4 separate regions of the Homo sapiens genome follow, and all the other regions are linked to region 2. The links are contacts of gene promoters, found by promoter capture Hi-C in blood cells and fetal thymus (Javierre and others, 2016). All regions are on one chromosome and are shown on one strand. Each heading gives the region's core, a stretch centred on a gene start or on the middle of the fragment in contact. The rest is flanking DNA. Distances are from core to core; before and after follow the strand shown. Region 1 overlaps SMAP2 (small ArfGAP2). Region 2 holds the start of RLF (RLF zinc finger). Region 3 has its middle 22 kb from the start of SMAP2. Region 4 has its middle 21 kb from the start of COL9A2.

Region 1 (2,709 bases), core at 32-2,531, 220 kb before region 2:
TACAGAACATGTGCAGACTTTTTTCCTTCTCATTATTCCCTAAATTATACAGAGTAACAACTACTGGCATAGCATTAACATTGTATTAGATATTATAAGTAATCTAGAGATGATTTAAAGTATAAGGGAGGATGTGTATAAGTTATATGCAAGCACTACAACATTTATATCAGGGACTTGAGCATCTGTGGATTTTAGTACCCCAGAAGGTTCCTGGAACCAATCCCCCCTGGATACCAAAGGACAACTGTAGATCCTTTCATGGTAAATAAGATAGTGTCCAGTTTAAAACACAGTCTCTGACGGGGTGGCTTAGCAATTATTCCTGACACACTGATAAAATCTGGAACTGCTGAGCTAGAAGTTAAAACTTGGACCAGTATGACCCCAAGTACAAAGGAAGTATGACCCATACCCAAAAATGGAACCCAGCCTCAATCAGCCAGAGTTACCATTGACATATCTGGAATTTTCAGTAGTTTTGTCCTCTGTTCTATCACTACCTAAGTTAGTCCAAAAGTTCACCCTAAAAGTCACATTAACCCCAGGGCTTTGGGTAATGAAGAAATCACATCTTGAGCCTAGAGAGAATCATAGCATTTCTTAAATAGGCAGCCCCAAAGCAGTTTCCTTTCCCACACTGAAATTACTGGAATGGTTTAGTGGTCCCAGAAACTGGTAAGACTCGTGCCCAGGACAGTTAAAAACCCCAGGATCAACAAAACTTGTACGAAGTAAAAAGAACACAAGCTTGTTCTCTATTCTGATGTTTATTTGTTGTGTTTTGTTTTAGAGACAGGGTCTTGCTCTCTGACCCAGGCTGCAGCGCAGTGGCACTCAATCATGGCCCACTGCAGCTTCGACCTCCTGGGCTCAGTTGCCCAGGTGATCCTCCTGCCTCAGCCTCCTGAGTAGCTGGGACCACAGATGCACAACACCACACCCAGCTAATTTTTTAACTATTTGTAGAGACAAGGTCACACTATGTTGCCCAGGCTGGTCTTGAACTCCTGGACTCAAGTGATCCTCCCTCCTTGGCCTCTCAAAGTGCTGGGATTACAGGTTTGAGCCACCACACCCAGCCTCTATTCCGAAGTTTAAATCACATACCTTGAAAGTCAACTAATAAATGTTCCTAAATAAGTATAAGAATTTAAAAATAAAAGTCATTGCCAAAGAGTTATATTTTGGAACATTGCAAAAATACCTGCTCATAGGTCGATAGTCTATGCCACATCATCTAACTGGATATTAATAGATGAGCAATCACTCACCATATCCTGTACAGTTAACTTCCAATTTTTTAGGAAAGGACACAGGAATACAGGTAAATAAACTGAAACCCAATTCTCATTTTAGCCAACACTTTTTAAATTCCTCCTCCAATGAAATGTATTTTTTATCAGCGCTAACAGGTAACAATTTATTGATCCAAACGTCTTTTCCTTCAACAATCTGATAGTTGTCCAAATGATCATTATGACAACCAAAATTAGAAAACAGCAGGGGAAAAAGAGTGAGAGGGCTTGGAGGGGTGGAATGGGATAGGTAATTCATAAATTGGATAAACAGAGGCCTCAACAAATGCCTATTTGTCATAATCTAAAGATGACTGACCCATTGTCATCTCATTTTTAATACAATGACCAAGTCCCTGAAGCCACCTGGTAAAATGTAAAACGAACTTCTGAAAAGAAATTGAGGATCCAGGATTCTACCATCAACAGTAGTTAATAAAGTTTACAAGCCAGCAGTTACTAGTTCTCATTAAGAATTAACTGATATTTCATAACCTGATCCCCAGTAAGCTTATTAATAAAAAGCAACGGAAATTTCGGGCTGGGCATGGTGGCTCACACCTGTAATCCCAGCACTTTGGAAGGCTGAGGCGGGTGGATCACCTGAGGTCAGGAGTTCAAGACCAGCCTGGCCAACATGGTGAAACCCTGTCTCTACTAAAAATACAAAAATCAGCTGGGCATGGTGGCGGGCGCCTGTAATCCCAGGTACTCGGGAGGCTGAGGCAGGAGAATCACTTGAACCCGGGAGGCAGAGGTTGCAGTGAGCCGAGATTGCACCATTGCACTCCAGCCTGGGCGACAAAGCGAAACTGTCTCAAAAAATAAAAATAAAAAATAAAATAAATAAAAAGCAATGGAAATTTGGAGGAAGAAGTAGTGAATCAGCCTCTCTCTTCCATGTGCTGTATTTTATTGGAATATGAGTAAGTATAAGGGTAATATGAGAAATGGGGGGGGGGGTTCTAGTCACCAAAATGGCATCTGACTCTCCAAATGCAGCAATGCTCACTCCAGTGGGTTGCTTCACTGTGACTCAAGATCTGTCAAATGAGGACATAAGGGAATTTGAATAAAGCCAAGATACACTCCTAAAATAAACCAAATCTTCCAATAGACCTAACAGAAGATGTAACAAGAATCAAGAAGCTAACCTACTCAACATAAATTGATTCTAAAATACTTTTTAAAATGAATTATTGCTAATGCAAAAATTCAGGAAAGAAGTCTAGGAATTTGTTTTCCTAATGGCACATTCCATTTATCTGTTGGTAGAGGTCACTAAAATACATTACTAGGTGTCTATGTATCCCTCCCCTGTTCTCCTTTTATAACCTTATTCTTCAAAAATAAAAGGTAATTAAGTGAAAGCATCAATTAAATATGTCCTTCCTTTCTCAAAATAGATAAA
Region 2 (2,700 bases), core at 134-2,633:
ACAATCCACGGAAAAGATTAGTAAGGACAAAATTCCATTCAGAGAGATGAGGTGCTTCTGCCTCGGCAGAGAGAGGGAAGAAAAGCAATCAAGCAAGCTAACTTTTATTCTACTCCGGACCAACAGAGCAAATTGCCCCCCAAAATTATTATTTTAGAACGCCGCAATTTATTCAGCATACTGGACTACTTATTAGACTCCAAGTACCAACATGCCACGATTATTTTGCATTTTCTAAGGTACAACAGATAAGGAGCTGATGGGTGCCTCTGAAACCTGACAGAACAAACATTGGAAGCAGAAATAATAATGGCCAATATTTGTATTTGTAAAAGACTTGAAAACATACAGAAAAATCTCGGAGTGGTCATGGAGACTAAACTAAACACACCCATAAATATGTAATCATAGGTTAGGACCCACCAAGGCACAGAAATGATCATACGACTGCCAAAAGAGGCCACACTCTACATCCCTCTTCCCATCCTCTTCTACTCAAAGAGTCAGCCTTATTCTCGGTAGCACAATCCTCTCAAAGAAATACAGAAAAGACGAAAGAACGGCTTAAACGTAAAAAAAAAAAAAGCAAAAACCAAACAACCAACCGGCTCCGCAATCCCTAATCAGAAAGCTCTAGACGCCTTTCGAAGCCAACTGTCATACCTTTTAGGAGCCCAGAAGATGTTAACTCCAAAAATAAGTCTCTGGCCCCAACACACCTCTCTGGATTATTCAGAAAAACCCGGGTTTACCAGTTCGGAGATCTGCACTCCACTCAAAAAAGGATCTCCCGGCAGGGACAAGCAATCAATCCCTCAGGGGGCAGTGGCGCTCCAACCACCCGGCCAGGACACAGGCAACGGCGACAGGGCACAGCCCTTCCAGGGACCCGCCAGGGCCCTCCGGGATCTCAGTAAGGCTCAGAGCAAAACGACCCAGCGGTGGCCAAAGTCGGGCAGTGGCGCAGGGGGGCCAGCGGTCGAGCTTCCGAGCTGGGCCTTCCCGGCCCGGGGGCGCGGCGAGTCACGGAGGTGGCGCCTTTCAGTTTGGACCCGGCTGCTTACAGAGGATCCAGGGCCTCCTTCCCTGACTTCCCCGCCCCGCCGCCCTCAGCCAGCCAGTCAGCCCCTCACCTGGCAGAAGCTCCGGCAGTAGTTCAAAGATGAGACCTCCGACACCTCTTGCTCCCTCAGCTCTGTCTCCAGCTGCCACAGACACGGCCGCAGTCCCGAGGCTCCCGGCGCTGGAGATACGGGGCGATGACCCCGAACCATGGACTCAGTCTCGACTCCATCTCCGGCTCCCGCTACCGCCGGAGCCTCAGCCCCAGCCCCGGCGACAGCGGCGGCGTCTCCCTTTCCGTCCGCCATCTTCCCACGGCCCACCAGCGCGTAGGCAACCAAGCCACGTGACTCAGCCCTGGCCCTGCCCCCGGCCGCCCGCGCACTGTGACGCACTCCTTAGCGACGCGGGCGCCCGCCTGATTCCGTCACTCGGACTCCGGGTGCTCTCAGTGGCCTACGCATCGCCAGTCCTGACAACAGCCTAGCAACAACTGGCTAGAGGCTATGCCCACCTAGACCCCTTTGAGGTCATGGGATCACGGAGCCAGAAATGCCTGTAGAGCAATCTAGATTTGAGGGGGATGACATTTGAACTGCGATCTGAAGGGACAAGAGGAAGGTAGCCCTGAAAGGAACATAGCGAAAAGCATCCCTGGTAGAAGGAAAATAAGCAAAGATTGTGAGGCCGAAATGAAGAGTAACATCAAGGGAACTTGGTTTATGATACAGACGGCATTACAAGTCAGTGGGCGAAAGGACAGACTCTTCAATAAATGGCGATGAGACATTTTTTCCAAAAGGGAAATAAATGATTAGATTTCTACCTCAAACCATTTCCAAAAATAAGGCCGAGATGGATTAAAGACCTGCAAACATTTTTCAGAAAATAAAAATAGCTTTATAATGTCAAAAATAGGGAAGAATTTTTTTTTTTTTTTTTAGACGGAGTCTCACCCTTGTTGCCCAGGCTGGAGTGCAACAGTGCTATCTCAGCTCACCGCAACCTCCGCCTCCTTGGTTCAAACATTCTCCTGCCTCAGCTTCCGGAGCAGCTGGGATTACATGCATGCGCCACCATACCTGGCTAATTTTGTATTTTTAGTAGAGATGGGGTTTCTCCATGTTGGTCAGGCTGGTCTCGAACTCCTGACCTCAGGTGATCCGCCCGCCTCAGCCTCCCAAAGTGCTGGGATTAGAGGCGTGAGCCACCGCGCCCGGCTAAGAATTTCTTAATAAGACCGGAAAAGCACAAACCATAAGGGAAAATATTTAGATTTGACTGTATTAAAATGTGTTACTTCCGTATAACAAGTTGAAAAAGCACACAAAGACAAGCCACAGACTAAATGATATTCCCCATATATATAACCATTGTTTATTGTTGTTGTTTTTTGAGACAGGGTCTCACTCTGTCACCCAGCCTGGAGTGCAGTGGCACGATCTAGGCTCACTGCAACCTCTGCCTCTCAGGTTTAAGTGATTCTCGTGCTTCAGCCTCCCAAAGTAGCTGGCACTATAAGCGTCCGCCACCATGCCTGGCTAATGTTTGTATTTTTAGTAGAGGCGGGGTTTCACTGTGTTGGCCAGGCTGATCTCGAACTCCTGGCCTCAAGTGATCCGCCCGCCTTGGCCTTCC
Region 3 (2,700 bases), core at 30-2,529, 190 kb before region 2:
GGGTGACTATTCTGGTGCACATTCAAGTATGAGAACTGCTGCTCATGTAAATCACCTCATGGTCACAAGATGGTCACCACAGCTCTAAACATTGCATCATCTTCCAATGAAGGAAGAAGAGAAAAGGAATGTCCCCAATCTTAGCTGTTTCTTTTATCAGGAAAACAAAAGTTTTCCGAGAAGCTCACAGCAGTCTTTCCCTTAAGACTCCTTGGCCAAAACTAGGTTGCATGGCTCAGCCTCTAACTGCAAAGGACACCAGGAAAGCCCTTATGGCAGGAGGCAGCAAGAGAGATGGGTGCTGGACATGGCTGTGGGCAACCCCGGACAATGTCTGCCATAGAGTCCATGGTGGTCAGGACCATGGAAAACGTCATGCCTGACTCCATCTGCAAACGTAGTCTTAGAACTTTCAGATTCTTCAGATGGGAGTACCCAGACATAAAAATTTCATTGTTGTTAATATCTATCAATTGTGGTCGAGATCATTACACATCATGCTAAAATAATCCTTTCCCATCAAAAATGAGGAGGAGGCGCCGCGTGTGGTGGCTCACACCTGTAATCTTAGAGCTTTAGGAGGCCAAGGAGGGAGGATCGCTTGAGGCCAGGAGTTTGAGACCAGCCTGGGCAACATAGCGAGGCATTGTCTCTACAAACTTTTTAAAAAATTAGCAGAGAATGGTGGCTTGCTGCTGTAGTCCTAGCTAAGGTGGGAGGATTGCTTGAGCCTGGGAGTTCAAGGTTGCAGTGAGCTATGATCATGCCACTGCACTCCAGCTTGGATGACAGAGCAAGATCCTGTCTTTAAAAGTAAAAAAAAATAGAAAAACTTTTTAAATTAAAATATTTTAAAATGAGCAAGGGAAACAACAAAGAAGGAAGAAGAGAAAGAAGTGACGAACTCTGCCTTGACAGAGTGGAGTTCTTTTCCGAGCAATCAAGGAGGAGAACATTATAGGCAGAGAGATTAAAATGCATGAAAATGCAGAACTGAAAAAGAACTCTGAGCTGCTAGAGAGGTTACATGTGGCAAGCATTAGGAGAAGCTGGACAGAGGGTGAGGGCCAGATCACGAAAGGCCTTGTATGCTGTGCTGAGAAGGTTGAACTCCACCCTGTTCCTAATATCATTAAAGCTTGGAGGGCATCTTATCCTGGGTCCACAGATGGACTTTGGCACCTTATCAACACTATTTATTTTAAACATTATTTATAATATCAACCCCCTGAAATTGTATGAAAAATTTCATGGAGCTGCTCTGCCTATGGAGTAACTATTCTTTTGTTTCTTTACTTTCTTAATAAACTTGCTTTCACTTTACAAAAAGAAAAAAAAATTCATGGATGTGCGGGTGTGTGCAGTCTTGGGGAGAGAGGGCCTCAGATTTGCAGGGATGTGCATAACCCAAAGAAGCTTAAGAATCTGGCTGGGTACGGTGGCTCACACCTGTAATTCCAGCACTTTGGGAGGCCGAGGTGGGTAGATCACTTGAGGCCAAGAGTTCGAGACCAGCCTGGCCAACATGGTAAAGCCATGTCTCTATTAAAAAAAATTAAAATAGGCTGAGCGCGGTGGCTCACCCCTGTACTCCCAGCAATTTGAGAGGCCAAGGTGGGTGGATCACCTGAGGTTAGGAGTTCGAGACGAGCCTGACCAAATGGTAAAACCCCATCTCTACTAAAAATACAAAATTAGCCGGGCTTGGTGGTGCACGCCTGTAATCCCAGCTACTCCGGAGGCTGAGGCGTGAGAATCGCTTGACCCAGGAGGCAGAGGTTGCAGTGAGCCAAGATCGTGCCATCGCACTCCAGCCTGGACAACAAGAGTGAAACTCTGTATCAAAAAATAAATAAATAAATAAAAATGAAAGAATCATTTCTTTAAGGAGTCAAGGAGTTAATCATTGTATTCTGTATTCATCACCAGAATAAATTTATACTCTGAACAGACTCTAGATCCAGGTTAACTAGAAAAGACAGAGTTCAGACCAGAGCTGAGATTCTATCTTCTTGTCCACAGCGTTTCTTGTGCAATCTGTGCAATGGACAATCTCCAACAAGTGCCAAGACAGATGAGTATCTCCTTTTCCCCTCCTTGTCAGGCCACAGAGTCCCTCCTCTCTCCAATAACCTCTCAGCCCTGCTCTCTGTCACCACTCCCAAATGACGAGAAAGGAGGGAGTAGGACATCTGTGAAGAGAGACCCACCAGCTCCCCATCAAAGCTGGGGTGCTCCAGAAGGCACCAGAAAATGGAACAAGAGAGGATTCTTTTCCAAGGAGAGTAGGACAAGCACAAGGGAACTTCTTGTCTACGACAGGTCCTTGTGATTCTGGGTAAGGAGGGAGATTGTTTGGATCTGCTCCTGACTTTGAGTCTTCAGAGTCTCCACTCTGGAGGCTTACAATTATTATTTGTAATGAGTTAATGAGCAGAATGGGGCAGAATAGTATCACAGGTTTCTTAATCCAAAGATAAATGATTTTGTAAAAATCCCAGTGAACAACATAATTTTAAAATGCTTATTTTAGAAAAAGATATAGAAATTTCTTCACATGACTAAACCTCTTCACTAATGGTGTCAGTTTGGTTCCTTCCAATTAATTCCTGAGTTTAAGAAGCCTTTAGGTGCCACATACCTGAAATCTTCATCCAAATAGACACAAGAGGCCCTTGCTAGGGCCATTGATTTAAGTGG
Region 4 (2,700 bases), core at 167-2,666, 140 kb before region 2:
TTATCTCATACTATCCCTACCACAGCCCTGTAAAGTAGGTATTACCCCATCTGCCATGTTAAAAAATAAAATCTCTGTCTCAATCCCACCTGTAGATACTATCCCAAATTTTTGCTCCCTTTTATGGGGAGGGTTGGTCTCACTTTGGCTTTTAGCTCACCACACTGTTCTCAGATTCCTGCGCTGATTTCTCATGTCTCCAGTATCTGAAAGTCACTTGTTCCTTGGACCACATCTTTTTCTCTGGCTCCTCTCATATCTCATTCAGTTTCATGGCTTTAAACTTTATCTATATATCCCCAGTCCAGATCTCGCTGCTTAACTTGATCCGTCGATCCAACTGCCTACTCAACATCTCCCCTTCGATGTCTGATGGGCATCTCAAATTTAACATGTCCGAAACAATTCCTGATCTTCCCCTCCAGAATCCCCCCTCCTGCGATCTTTCCCATCTCACCCAAGGGCAACTCCATCCTTTCAGTTATTTAAGCCAAATACACTGGAGTCATCCTCCACTCCCACTTTATCTCTTAGACCCCACATCTGATCCATCAGCACATCCTGTTGGCTCAGTCTTAAAAATATATCCAGAATCCAGCCACTTACCACCTCCTGACTACCACTCCAGTCTAGCACCATTATTTCTTGCAAGAAGGATTGCAAGCCTCTCCCAACTAGTCCCCTGCTTCAACCTTTGCTCCTCAACATAGAAGCCAGAGTGGTCCTATTAAAACTTCAGATCATGTCACTCCTTAGCCTAAAACTCTACAATGGCTTCCTACCACACTCAAGGAAAAGCCTGAATTCTTACAGTGGCCTACAAGGCCCTGCAAAATCTAGCGTCTGGGATGCTCTTCCCTCAGACACCTCCCTAGAACACCTCACTCTTCATTTCCTTCAGGTCTTGGTTCAAATGTGACCTTCAGTGATGCCTTTTTGTGACCACCCTATTTAAAATTGCTGGCCAGGCACGGCTCATGCCTGTAATCCCAGAACTTTGGGAGGCCAAGGCGGGTGGATCACTTGAGGTCAGGAGTTCGAGACCAGTCTGGCCAACATGATGAAACCCCATCTCTACTAAAAACACAAAAACTAGCCAGGTGTGGTGGTGGATGCCTGTAATCCCAGCTACTTGGGAGGCTGAGGCAGGAGAATCGCTTGAACCCGGGAGGCAGAGGTTGCAGTAAGCCAAGATCGTGCCACTGCACTCCAGCCTGGGCGACAGAGTGCAACTCTATCTCAAAAAAATAAAAGATAATAAAATAAAATTGCAGCTCCTACCCCCACCCAAACACCTCAGCCCCCGCCTTTTTTTCCAAAACATGTATCACCATATAAATACATTTTAGTTGTCTTTCTCCCTGATACTAGAATGTAAACTCCAAGACGTGGCGGATTTTTGTACCTTTTGTTTACCATGTATTCCCCATCACCTAGAGCAGCGCTTGGTAGAGTGGGGACAGATGGAGAAATACAGTCTCGGTCAAGTTTCTTACCCAAAGTCTTACTAGTAAGTGGCATGTTGGATTATAGAGCCCCAGGCTTAATCCTAATACTTTACCTGTTATTGACCATCATCCAGAGAGCCAGAGGGGAGCTCGGACTCAGCCAAGGGCAGAGTAAGGCAAATCTGCTTCCTGAGTATTGGCGGTCCCGGCTTCACAGGTTTTTAGAACACACAGAGGTATCTTCCTAGCTGTTTCTGGTCAAACTGTTTAGGAAATCCTCCTCCCTGGAAATCATCCTGGATAACAGAGAAGAGCCCAAGATTTCCTTATCCATATTGTCTAAATGGGACTATCCCATTCCACAATGGATTATATTTGCCTTCCCACAAAACTGAACTCAGCCTGGCACACATCGTTCAAGTTACTTGCTCACATCACTGTGGTCTTAAAATGTTTCTGGATAAAAGTTTTGGATTACAAATTATCTGTAATTTTCTTTGTTTTGCCCTTAGGATAGAACGTAAGGCCCTTAAGTGGTAGTTAGCTTTCTGCTAATGATGGCAGAATACTCAAAACCATCAAAGATATAGAAAGTATATAAGAACATGGCCAGGAGTGGTGACTCACACCTGTAATCTCAGCATTTTGGGAGGCCAGGGCAGGCAGATCACAAGGTCAGGAGCTTGAGGCCAGCCTGGCTAACATGGAGTAACCCCATCTCTACTAAAAAATACAAAAATTTGCTGGGCACGGTGGCTCACCCCATAATCCCAGCACTTTGGGAGGGCAAGGTGGGCGGATCCCCTGAGGTCAGGAGTTTGAGACCAGCCTGGCCAACATGGAGAAACCCCGTCTCTATTAAAAATACAAAAATTAGCCAGGTGTATTGGCCCATGCCTGTAATCTCAGTTACTCGGGAGGCTGAAGCAGGAGAATCACTTGAACCTGGGAGGCAGAGGTGGCAGTGAGCCAAGATCATGCCACTACACTCAATCCTGGGTGACAGAGAGACAGAGAGTCTTAAAAAAAAAGAAAGAAAAGAAAAAAATACAAAAATTAGCCGGATGTGGTGGCTCACATGCCTGTAATCCCAGCTACTCAAGAGGCTGAAGCAGGAGAATCTCTTGAACCTGGGTGGTGGAGGTTGCAGTGAGCCGAGATCGCACCATTGCAGTCCAGCCTGGGCAACATGGTGAAACCCCATCTCTACTAAAAATACAAAAAATTAGCCAGGCGTGGTGGCGCAAGCCTG

The links. The method cuts DNA at HindIII sites, captures the fragments that hold promoters and counts their contacts. A CHiCAGO score of 5 or more calls a contact.
Region 1: a contact is called between a fragment that was not itself captured here and the fragment with the promoter of RLF in region 2, in 11 of 17 cell types (fetal thymus, naive CD4 T cells, total CD8 T cells and 8 more). The highest score is 11.4, in fetal thymus.
Region 3: a fragment that was not itself captured here is called in contact with the fragment with the promoter of RLF in region 2 in 8 of 17 cell types (naive B cells, total B cells, fetal thymus and 5 more); the score reaches 7.5 in naive B cells.
Region 4: a contact is called between a fragment that was not itself captured here and the fragment with the promoter of RLF in region 2, in 7 of 17 cell types (naive B cells, total B cells, endothelial precursors and 4 more). The highest score is 7.4, in naive B cells.

The regions. Positions count from the first base shown.
Region 1 is chr1:40,375,379-40,378,087 of GRCh38, reverse strand. All of the region lies in intron 1 of SMAP2 (small ArfGAP2), which reads right to left. Among named protein-coding and RNA genes, the nearest start is that of SMAP2, 3.0 kb to the right of the region's middle. The HindIII fragment of the contact is 1,058 bases long and covers 753-1,810 here.
Region 2 is chr1:40,160,070-40,162,769 of GRCh38, reverse strand. It overlaps RLF (RLF zinc finger), which reads right to left and starts at 1,383. Exons shown (of 8, transcript NM_012421.4): 1 at 1,134-1,383. The coding sequence starts at 1,370. LOC105378671 (a long non-coding RNA gene) reads left to right here and starts at 1,492. Exons shown (of 3, transcript XR_947232.3): 1 at 1,492-1,805. RefSeq lists enhancers at 479-1,094, 1,098-1,607, 1,095-1,711. The HindIII fragment of the contact is 5,693 bases long and covers 1-2,700 here.
Region 3 is chr1:40,350,665-40,353,364 of GRCh38, reverse strand. It overlaps a transcript of SMAP2 not described here. Among named protein-coding and RNA genes, the nearest start is that of SMAP2, 22 kb to the left of the region's middle. The HindIII fragment of the contact is 278 bases long and covers 1,141-1,418 here.
Region 4 is chr1:40,295,164-40,297,863 of GRCh38, reverse strand. No RefSeq gene overlaps it. Among named protein-coding and RNA genes, the nearest start is that of COL9A2, 21 kb to the left of the region's middle. The HindIII fragment of the contact is 4,052 bases long and covers 1-2,700 here.